4 separate regions of the Homo sapiens genome follow, and all the other regions are linked to region 3. The links are contacts of gene promoters, found by promoter capture Hi-C in human tissues and cell types (Jung and others, 2019). All regions are on one chromosome and are shown on one strand. Each heading gives the region's core, a stretch centred on a gene start or on the middle of the fragment in contact. The rest is flanking DNA. Distances are from core to core; before and after follow the strand shown.

Region 1 (2,700 bases), core at 132-2,631, 98 kb before region 3:
AGACTGAATTCCCTTTTTAACAAAACTGTTAAAGACATGATAAGCCAAAGAGACACGAGCAGCGATAACACATTTTTCCATTTATTTTCAGCAAAGGGATTGAAATTCAACACGTCGCACACCTTTTCAAGCCACTATCGCAGGTCTGGATGTTGAATGTAATTCTGCTACTTTTTGCAGATAACAGCTTGTCTCTGGGTAGAGAAAGGCTGGGATCGTATTGAGAAAAGATTAAATTTCCCACATATCCAGAAAAGCTGATGGTGCTCAGCATGTATTCTGCTTGCTCATCTGATGTTCACTCTGTCACCTACAAGTATTAAGCACCTACTCTATGTCATGCTTCATGCTGGATGCCAAGGCTTCAAAGATCAGTAGAACCTGAATTTTACCTTAAAGAGACTAGAGTCTAATGTCAACATGCAAACTTGCCTTTTCTGTACCAGAGGAGAAATGCTTCTGGCATCAAGGGCATGGAACTAATTTTGAGGTTATAAACAATCTTTAGAATTTGTCTCAATTTGGCTAGGCGCAGTGGCTCATGCCTGTAATCCCAGTACTTTGGGAGGCTGAGGTGGGCGGATCACGAGGTCAGAAGATCGAGACCATCCTGGCTAACATGGTGAAACCCCATCTCTACTAAAAATACAAAAAATTAGCCGGGTGTGGTGGCAGGCACCTGTAGTCCCAGCTACTCAGGAAGCTGAGGCAGGAGAATGGTGTGAACCTGGGAGGCAGAGCTTGCAGTGAGCCAAGATGGTGCCACTGCACTCCAGCCCAGGGGACAGAGCGAGACTCCGCCTCAAAAAAAAAAAAAAAAAAAAAAATTTGTCTCAATTTTCTTTGAATATGTCTTCTCTCTTTCCAGGGTCTCATAACTTCCAGAGAGCAACCCCTTTCCAACTTCCCCTCCTTCTCCGCCCACTCCCCCCAGCAAAAAAAACAAAATTGTAATTAATGATGGGAACTTAAAAATTGCCCAGACTTCCTAGTTATCTCACAAGGAAACAGGGCAACACAGAGCCCCAGCCTCCACTTCTCCCACCCCTCCGAACCCCCAGTTCCTTCTCCCCTACAAAGGAACAGTCTCTACAATCCAGAACAAGTCCTGAGCTAGGTGGGGGCTCATGGCTTCTACGTGCTCAACATTCCCTGCTGCCAGTAGGGCCAATTGCAAATGCAGCAGAAAGCAGATGCTTATTGATTTGGGCTTTGGCAAAAACCAAGGAAGCTGGATTCCTCTTTTGAGATAATGCTGAGCCAGTAGCAGCTGTTAGAAACAGGAAGCCGTGTGGACTCTGGTGTCATAAAAGTAAGACTGGATTTGACGTGCCAATTGCCTGGGATCCAAAGGGGAACTTCTCTCCACTCCTCAGAATGTCATATGTTTCTACAAAGACCTGAGAGGCAACCCAAGAGGCAGTTCAGCTGGAAGGAAACCAGAATTCCTGTTCAGACAAAATGCTCTCCTAAACCCTCACCCCCTTCATTTGTATAGTAAACCTTTATGGAGAGCCTACTAGATACAAGATACTGCACTAAACTATGCCAGTCCATCACCTCCCCACCCCCACCAACGAACATTTTTTTAAATATCAGAATCCCACCATGGTCTCAGAATTCAGCGCCTTGGCAGACTCCAGAAAGAATCATCCTGAGTTATTTTTTAAATGCCTACTCTGGTGTCTTGAGAAAACTGCTACATTAAGCTTACTTTATTCTCTATTTTTAAATTCTGTTATAGTGGTGCTTCACTCTGGGCTGCTGGAAACATTCAGGAACCACATCAGCAAACACCACCCCCGTTCTCCATAACATCAGCTCCTTCCATCTAGGGAAAAGGAAATGATCCACACCTAAGGTCATAGCTGGCCCAGTAGAGGAAAATGTCAAATAAAACCCAGAAATGGAGAGTCGCCATTATTTACCCCTTTGGTGCATATGTGTAGGGGAATAAACAACTCTCTCCATTACATTACATCATTACATTACATTACATTACACTACTCATCCACAACATTAGGAAGTCAGATTGCATCACACCCCTGAAAGCTGGCCAGTGTGAAAATGAGTGCTTAAGGGACATGAGGATGAAATTGTTTACTCTAGGAGTTAAGGTATGTTTTCCTCTAACAGACAGGGGCTGTGTATCCCTAAGTTGGTTTAAATGTGGTCATAAAGTCTAGAATATGACCTGGAAGACTTCAAGGTCCCTGGAAGCCACAGATTTCATAATGGAGTTAGGCAGGCAAGTCCAGGCTTGTTTCTTTTCAGACTTATCATGGACCAGTTATCTAGCCTGAAAATGGATTTTGAAATTGCTGGGGAAACTTCAAAATTACTCATTTCTATCTTGGAAACTAGCTCCAATCTCCTTACAACAGGAGGTGCACTGAGGCATCCCCTAAGACAGGAGTCAGCAAACTACAGCCCACAGGCCAAATTTGTTCTACCACTTTGTATGGTTTGTGAGTGAAGAATGGTTTTCCATTTTTAGATGGTTGACAAATAAATCAAATGAACAGTTTTTTTTTGACACATGGAAATTATATGGAAGTCAAATGTTAGTGTTCATATGTAAAGTTTTATTGAAACACAGCCATGCCTACTCATTCACATATTGTTACTTTTGTGTTCCAACAGCTGTGTTGTATAATTGCAACAGAGACCACATGGCCCACAATGCCTACAATATTTGAT
Region 2 (2,700 bases), core at 191-2,690, 130 kb before region 3:
TAAGTCTTTAATACATCTTGAGTTGATTTTTGTATGTGATGTAAGGTAGGGGTCCAGTTTCAATCTTCTGCATATGGCTAGCCAGTTATCCCAGCACCATTTATTGAATGGGGCCATTGCTTGTTTTTGTCAGCTGTGTCAAAGATCAGATGATAGTAGGTGTGTGGCCTTATTCCTGGGCTCTCTATTCTGTTCCATTGGTCTGTTTGTTTCTGTACCAGTACCATGCTGTTTTGGTTACGGTAGCCCTGTAGCATAGTTTGAAGTTGAGTAACATGATGCCTCCAGCTTTGTTCTTTTTGCTTAGAATTGCCATTTCTATTTGAGCTCTTTTGCAGTTTCATGTGAATTTTAAAATAGCTTTTTTCTAGTTCTATAAAGAATGTCATTGGCAGTTTGTTAGAAATAGAATTAAATCTGTAAACGGCTTTGGGAAGTATGACCTTTTTAACAACACTGATTCCTCCTGTCCATAAGCATGAAATGTTTTCCATTTACTTGTGCCATCTCTGATTTTTTTGAGCAGTGTTTTGTAATTCTCATTATAGAGCTCTTTCACCTCCCTGGTTAGCTGTATTCTGAGATATTTTACTCTTTTCATAGGCAATTGTAAATGGGATTGTGCTCCTGATTTGGCTCTCAGCTGGGATGTTGCTAGTGTATAAGAACGCAATTGATTTTTGTTTGTCAATTTTGTATCCTGAACTTTTGCTGAAGTAGTTTATCAGATCAAGGAGCTTTTGGACAGAGACTATGGGGTTATGGGGTTTTCTTAGAGTGCAGTGGCCTGATCTCGGCTCACTGCAACCTCTGCCTCCTGGGTTCAAGCGATTCTCCTGCCTCAGCCTCCCAAGTAGCTGGGATTACAGGCATGCGCCCCACGCCTGGCTAATTTTGTATTTTTAGTAGAGACAGGGTTTCTCCATGTTGGTCAGGCTGGTCTCGAACTCCCGACCTCAGGTGATCTGCCCACCTCAGCCTCCCAAAGTGCTGGGATTACAGGCATGAGCTACCACACCCAGCCAGGGTTTTCTAGATATAGAATCATGTCATCTACAAACAGGGATAGTTCTACTTCCTCTCTTCCTATTTGGATGCCGTTTGTTTCCTTCTCTTGCCTAATTGCTCTGGCCAGGACTTCCAATACTATGTTGAATAGGAGTGGTGAGACAGGGCATCCTTGTCTTGTGCTGGTTTTCAAGGGGAATGCTTCCAGCTTTTGCCCATTCGGTACGATGTTGGCTGTGGGTTTGTCAGAGATGGCTCTTATTACTTTGAAGTATGTTTCTTCAGTGCCTAGTTTATTGAGGGGTTTTGTTTGTTTGTTTGTTTTAACATGAATGGATGTTGAATTTTATCGAAGTCCTTTTCTGCATGGCCCAAACCTTCTTATTACTGCTGACCCCTATACTCCAGAGCTCTGACAACATTCCACCTACTTTTCAAGGCCCAGCTGAGATTTGCCCCACCCAGGAAACTTAGCCTTCTATTTCTTTCCTCATCAGAATTTATCCTCCTCTCCCCCTAAAAGATGACATTTGTAATAATTTCACCACTGATGACTTGCATTCAGATAAGCTTCCTAACACAGATGAGAGGCACAAAGCCAGAGCTGGTAAGCTGGTTGGCACACATACATCACCACACCTTATGTCTCAGCTGAAATGAAGCAAGCACTCCTTATATAGATTCACAGGGGTATGGGGGACATGTGCATCAGGAAAAAAAATTTAAGTTGGAAACTACATATTTATGTGAGTTTCACACACATAAATAATGCTAGAAAAATTATGAAGGGTTATAGTCAAAATAACCCTGAATCCACTTAGATTTACTTTTCAATTTTTTTTTATTTTGTTTTGTTTTTATTTTTTTGAGACAGGGTCTCTCTTTGTTGCCCAGGCTGGAGCGCAGTAGTGCCATCTCATTTCATGCAGCCTCGATCTCCTGGGCTCAAGTGATCCTCCCAACTCAGCCTCCCAAGTAGCTCAGACTACAGATGCACACCACCATGCCTAGCTAATTTTTGAATTTTGTGTAGAGACGGGATTTCACCATGTTGCCCAGGCTGTTCTCCAACTCCTGAGCTCAAGTGATCCTCCCACCTCAGCCTCCCTAAGTGCTGGGATTACAGGCATGAGCCACCGCACCTAGCTAGATTTATTTTTATTAGTGCATTTTATTCAGCACTTTAACTATTATTTGTAACAAACTGCTGATGACATGTCTCACAACTGATAGAGCCCACCAGAATGTGTTAACAGCAAGGCTGAAAGCTGCTGAACTGATAATGCCTCCTCTTGCTTCAAAGGCTTTGGAAGGCACAGACTGTATCTTCTTTGCTTAAAGGTCTTAGCCCTGTGCTTCAGTCATAGGAGGAACTTATGAATTGTGAATGGTATTGACCCGAACTGACTTTACCAGACCTGAATGAGGGTTTAATCAGAAAAGCTCCCATAGTAGAAGAGAGAGCATTCTGAGGAATCCAGCAGTTGATAAACAAGCCTTTACTGCACTCCCTCGGGAAATGAAGCTCTGTAAGTAGGCACTCTAGATAATGGATGGTGGGGAACAAGCCTGTCCCCACCCTGTAAAGAGGGCGTATGGGAGACAAGACCAACAAATATGTAATCAGCATAAACACAACGAGAAAAATACAGTCATTCCAAGAGTATGTTGAGGGGGAAGAATGAATGGGTA
Region 3 (2,700 bases), core at 88-2,587:
GCCACATAACATTTTAGTCAATGCAACAGTGGTCCCATAAGATTACAATACTGTATTTTTACTGTATGTTTCCTATGTTTAGACACACAAGTACTCACCACTGTGTTACAACTCCCTACAGCATTCAGTAGTCGCATGCTGTACAGGTTTGTACCTAGGATCAACAGGCTATGCCATGTAGCCTCCGTGTGTAGTAGGCTGAACCATCTAGGTTTGTGTAAGTACACCCTGATGTTCACACACACAGGAAAATTGCCTAAGGATGCATTTCTCAGACGTGACACATAATTGTACTTCAATTCATTTAAGTCTCATAATAACCTTAGGAGGTAGGTTCCATCATTATCTTCATTTACATTTGAGGAGACTGCAAAGTCCCGAAGAAATCTTACACTGAACCACGGGGAAAAGAACTCTGGTCTGAACCCACAAGTCAAAGTATGTCTGAGGGTTCTCAATTCCAGCAAGGGAAGGGAGGGGGTTAAAGAGTAGAACTAACTTACATGGGAAGCTTTGCTGCCTGGGCAAGCAGCTTCTGGTGGATTTCCTGAAATTCAGCAGGGTGGGGCCGCCTCTCCAATCAGACTTCACTTTACTATACTATGGGGTCATTAAATAGAGGAGCCAGGAGTTCAGGACTCCCTCCCTCTTCTTCAAAAGGAAAACTGGGTGTGGGGAGGGTACATTACCTCACAGAATATTGGAGAAAGCCTAAATGTGTCCTCCAGTGATTCATTTGGGTGGACTACTTTCACACCAAGCTAAACTCAAAAGTTCGGAGTGGGGTCATCAGGGCCCCTCCCTCCCTGAGTGCAAGAAACATTTCCTCTTTTTAAAGTACAGGCAGAGTTGGAATCAAACTCCTTCCAAACAGGAAATCAGCAAGATTCTAGGTAAAACTGATACCTTACTTTTAAAGGTCAAGCTCTTTCCTTCACCAAGAGCGTGTTTCCTGAGCACCTACTATGTGCCAGGCATGTGGTAGGTAGTTGTTATGAATCTTGATGTGCCCTGCGCTCTGCAGGGGGGCGGAGGTGGAAGGGAACACAAAGAAAGAACAGATACCAACACTGCCACCCCCGCCTCCCCCCACCCCCCCCCACACACTCATTTGGCAAAGCTTACAGGAAAAAAAGGGTTTTAGGGGGCTTGTGGTGGTTTTTTTTTCCCTAAAAATAATAGAAATGGTAAAAAGAGGCTTCGGACCCCTCGCGTGAGTCCCTTAAAGTGACTGGATTGAGACCTGGGCAGGGAAAGTGGGAGGCCCGAGCGAGGGGGAGGGCGCAGGCAGTGGGTGGGTGACAAGGTGCAAGGGCAGCGCCGGCTTCGGATCGGGAGTTGGCCGTCAGCTGCGCCAGAGGCAGGTGCCAGCGGAGAGTGGGTGGGGGTGCCGGCGCCAGGCCAGGCTCGGGGAGGCCCCGCGCTACCTCTGCCTCTAGGAGTCCAGGCGCACAGACAAGCTCCCCGGAGCCGCTCCTGCTTCGCCAACTCCCCACTCGCGCCGCCCGTGCCAGCCGCCGGCACTGGCGTCTCCGCCGCCCGCAGGAGGAGTCGCGGGAGCACTAGCAGCCGCCGCCGAGCGACAGCATCCTCAGGAGAGACGCCCCGGGCTTTGCAGCCGGCGGCCTCCGTCCGCCCTCCGCGGTCGCCCCCCGCCCCGTCGCCCGTCCGCCCGCGGTGGCAGCCGGCGCCGGCGCCCCGGGGCCCTTCACCTGCCGCGAGCGTCCGGGCGGGCGGGCGCACGGGAGAAAAGGCGCAAGAAGCGGGCACCCCGGGAACCCCATTCCCTCGGCTCACTCGGCGCGGAGAAGCGACGCCCGCTGACTCCGAGAGCCCCGGTGCTCCGTGCACCTGGTCCCCAAGTTGAGGAGCGACACCCCTCCACAGGGGACTAGCCCGCGCGGGGAGCATTCCGGTCTCACTGACCCCGGCCCACCCGCGGGACTCCAGGCACCTCTTCTGCCCGCACCCCGCGACCCCTCCCGGGACCCCGGAGACAGCCGGCCTGCCCCCGGCGTCCCCCTTGGCCAGCACGCCATGCCGGGGCTGCGCCGGGACCGCCTACTGACTCTGCTGCTGCTGGGCGCGCTGCTCTCCGCCGACCTCTACTTCCACCTCTGGCCCCAAGTACAGCGCCAGCTGCGGCCTCGGGAGCGCCCGCGGGGGTGCCCGTGCACCGGCCGCGCCTCCTCCCTGGCGCGGGACTCGGCCGCAGCTGCCTCGGACCCCGGCACGATCGTGCACAACTTTTCCCGAACCGAGCCCCGGACTGAACCGGCTGGCGGCAGCCACAGCGGGTCGAGCTCCAAGTTGCAGGCCCTCTTCGCCCACCCGCTGTACAACGTCCCGGAGGAGCCGCCTCTCCTGGGAGCCGAGGACTCGCTCCTGGCCAGCCAGGAGGCGCTGCGGTATTACCGGAGGAAGGTGGCCCGCTGGAACAGGTGAGGACCCCGCCCGGGACGCGGGAGAGCGGGCGCTCTGGCCGGGGCCTCCCCGCGCCCCAGTCTCGAGTTTCCTGACGCCCCCGGCCCAGGGCTGCAGCGGCTCCACCCACGGCTCCAGCCCTGGCGCTGGGCTTAGAGTGTGTTCCCCACCCGAACCCCACCAGCTGTTGCAGACCTCACAGTCCAGTCCCGGAGTCAGATAGTACGAGGAAAAAGTTTCTATTGCAGCCGCACAGCGAAGAAACGCTCTCAGCCC
Region 4 (2,700 bases), core at 17-2,516, 100 kb after region 3:
AAGTCATGTAGTGAGGAAGAGGCAGAGCTGGGGTGTGAACGAGGACCCTAAGCAAAGCTACTGAACTTGGACTTCCACCTGAGAGCTACAGAAGACCTTTAAAGAGGAGAGGGATCTGATTGGCCTGTACTTTAGAGAGATTGTAGGATGCCAGTGTGTCCCCTGATGCCAATAACAAGACTGAAACTGAGGATGTTTGGGAGTTAACACTCGAAGAAGATGTCAACAGACATCAGAGCCAGCACAGGAAGCAAGCGGGCAGTGGCGTGGGATGGAACTAGGGCCAATTGCCAGGTTTCCAAGAACTGAGTGGGGAGCTGCCAGGATTGCAGCCAAGGCTGCAGGAGATAAGGGCATGGGGATGGCACCTAACTGGCTCAGGCTATTTCTCAAAGGCAGGAGCACCCACCAGCTTCCTTGACCCTGACTGTACCCAGTGCCTGACACCAACTTATCTTTTCCAATTTATCTCCCTGGGTTCACATCCTCCCACAACCAGAACCTATTCTGTCATTTATACCCACACGTATTCACAAAACGACCCAGGGGCATTGCAAGAAATAAATACGTAATGAAATGATGTTAAAATATGGATAAAAACAAATATTAAGACCAGAGAAAACACTCATCAGAGCAGAAATTGAGCTTTTGGGGAGGAAAGGAGAAGAAACTCAAATATTCAAGCTGTGTGGTTCCTTGCTCTTGCTCAAGTTAAGCTCAAGTTTGAAGCTAAACTTCCAGTCAAAGTGAAAACGAAGGCAAGGTCATTTACATGGTCGTTACGGAGAGAAAAGAGGAAGTGCACCAGCTGCCAAGAAAACTTGTGGCCCTTTGCTAGCAAAGGTGTGGCATGAATTTTCAAAGTGGACTGCTTTCCAATCCCTTAACCCCCCCTTTACTTCCCCCATCACACCTGTGTTTAGGTGGTTGCATCCATCTAGCTTACAAGCATGTAAGTGTCAATCAAAATCCTGCCCAAATTTTAGAGCCCATCTTAAGTAGTTTGGCACCCATGAAGAAGGTGTCTTTTCCCTCCCTGGTCAGAAGTTTTTCCCCTTAATTATTTCTCTGCCTTGTTGTTGCTTCTTTCATAGCACTCATTATATTCTCTCACATGTTACAATTCAATGTCTATGTGTCTTGTCTTTCGTGAGGCAGCATAGCCTAATGGTTAGAGCAACAGCTCAGGAGTCAACCTCCCTGGGTTCTAGCTTGCCCCTCTCTGGCTGTGTAACCTTGGGCAACATACTTGATCCATCTAAGCTTCAGTTTTTTTTCATCTGTAAAATGAGAATCATAAGAGCATCATCCTTGTTCTCTTAGCACGGCACTTGGCACATGGTAAATTATCACATTTTTATCAGCATCTTCATAATTATCATCTCATCTCCTAGGGCTGTCAGTACAGTAGCCACTAGCCACAGGGAGCTCTTCAAATCTAAATTAATTATAATCAAATAAAGCTTAAAAGTCTTTTCCTTAGGGGTACTAGCCTCATTTCAAGTGCCAGCTGTAGCTAGTGACTACCATATTGGACAGCCCAGATACAGCATATTCCCACAATCACAGAAAGTTCTAAAGTTCCCTCTAGAACGGGGACTAGCAATTTTTTTTCTGTCAACGGTCAAATAGGTAATTATTTTAGACTTTGTGGCCATAAGGTCTTTGTTGCAACCACTCACCTTCACCACTATAGTGTGAAAGCAGCATAGACAACAAATAAATGAATGGGCATGGCTGTGTTCCAATAAAAGTTGACTTATGGACACTTTAAAGTAAATTTCATCTAATTTTTATGTCACAAAATATCATTCTCCATTCGAGCTTGTTTAGCCACTGAAAAATATACAGCCAGGCACAGTGGCTCACGCCTGTAATCCCAGAAATTTGGGAGGCCTGGGCAGGCAGATCACTTGAGCTCAGGAGTTCGAGACCAGCCTGAGCAGCATGGCAAAACCCTGTCTCCACAAAAAATACAAAAATGGGCCAGACATGGTGGTGTGTGCCTATAGTCCCAGCTATTTGTGGGGCTGAGGCAGGAGGATCACTTGGGCCCAGGAGGTCAAGTGCAGTAAGCTGTGTTTGCACCACTGCACTCTAGCCTGGGTGACAAAGTGAGACCCTGTCTCAAAAAAAAAAAAAAAAAAAAAAAAAGTAAAAACTAAGCTTAAGAGCTGTACAAAAACAGGTGATAGATCCAAATTTGTTGACCCCTTCTTTTAGAATATAAACTCCATTTGAACAAATATCATGTCTTCCTCATATACTACATAGCAGACTTCTGTTCTACATTCGAGGAGAGTGATACATAGTTCACAGCCTTTTTACCATAGGAGCTCACAGACTGCAGTCAGCCAAATGATGACCCCTGCAAGAACGTCCACGTCCTACTGCCCAAAAACATGTTGAAGTGTTACAGTACATGGCAAATGGGAATTAATATTGTAGATGAATTTAAGGTTACTAATCAGATGATCTTAAAATACAGAGATTGTCCTGGATTATCTGGACGTGGCCGGTGTAATCACAAGGGTCCTTCCATGTGGAAGAGGAAGATAGAAAGCTAGTATCAGAGTGATGCAGCATTAGGAAGACTCATCTGGCCATTGCTGGCTTTGAAAATGCAGAGAGGGCCGGGCGCAGTGGCTCATGCCTGTAATCCCAGCACTTTGGGAGGCCAAGGGAGGTGGATCATTTGAG

The links. The method cuts DNA at HindIII sites, captures the fragments that hold promoters and counts their contacts. A contact is called where the count stands out against the background at its distance.
Region 1: a contact is called between a fragment that was not itself captured here and the fragment with the promoter of FAM20A in region 3, in 3 of the 25 tissues and cell types used here (H1 embryonic stem cells, mesendoderm cells and thymus).
Region 2: a contact is called between a fragment that was not itself captured here and the fragment with the promoter of FAM20A in region 3, in 2 of the 25 tissues and cell types used here (mesendoderm cells and thymus).
Region 4: a fragment that was not itself captured here is called in contact with the fragment with the promoter of FAM20A in region 3 in 2 of the 25 tissues and cell types used here (mesendoderm cells and thymus).

Annotation. Positions count from the first base shown.
Region 1 is chr17:68,697,550-68,700,249 of GRCh38, reverse strand. No RefSeq gene overlaps it. Among named protein-coding and RNA genes, the nearest start is that of LINC01482, 71 kb to the right of the region's middle. The HindIII fragment of the contact is 3,203 bases long and covers 1-2,700 here.
Region 2 is chr17:68,725,410-68,728,109 of GRCh38, reverse strand. No RefSeq gene overlaps it. Among named protein-coding and RNA genes, the nearest start is that of LINC01482, 99 kb to the right of the region's middle. The HindIII fragment of the contact is 3,719 bases long and covers 1-2,700 here.
Region 3 is chr17:68,600,004-68,602,703 of GRCh38, reverse strand. It overlaps FAM20A (FAM20A golgi associated secretory pathway pseudokinase), which reads left to right and starts at 1,337. Exons shown (of 11, transcript NM_017565.4): 1 at 1,337-2,441. The coding sequence starts at 2,038. The HindIII fragment of the contact is 4,098 bases long and covers 817-2,700 here.
Region 4 is chr17:68,496,273-68,498,972 of GRCh38, reverse strand. It overlaps a transcript of PRKAR1A not described here. Among named protein-coding and RNA genes, the nearest start is that of PRKAR1A, 15 kb to the left of the region's middle. RefSeq lists a silencer at 243-426. The HindIII fragment of the contact is 5,296 bases long and covers 1-2,700 here.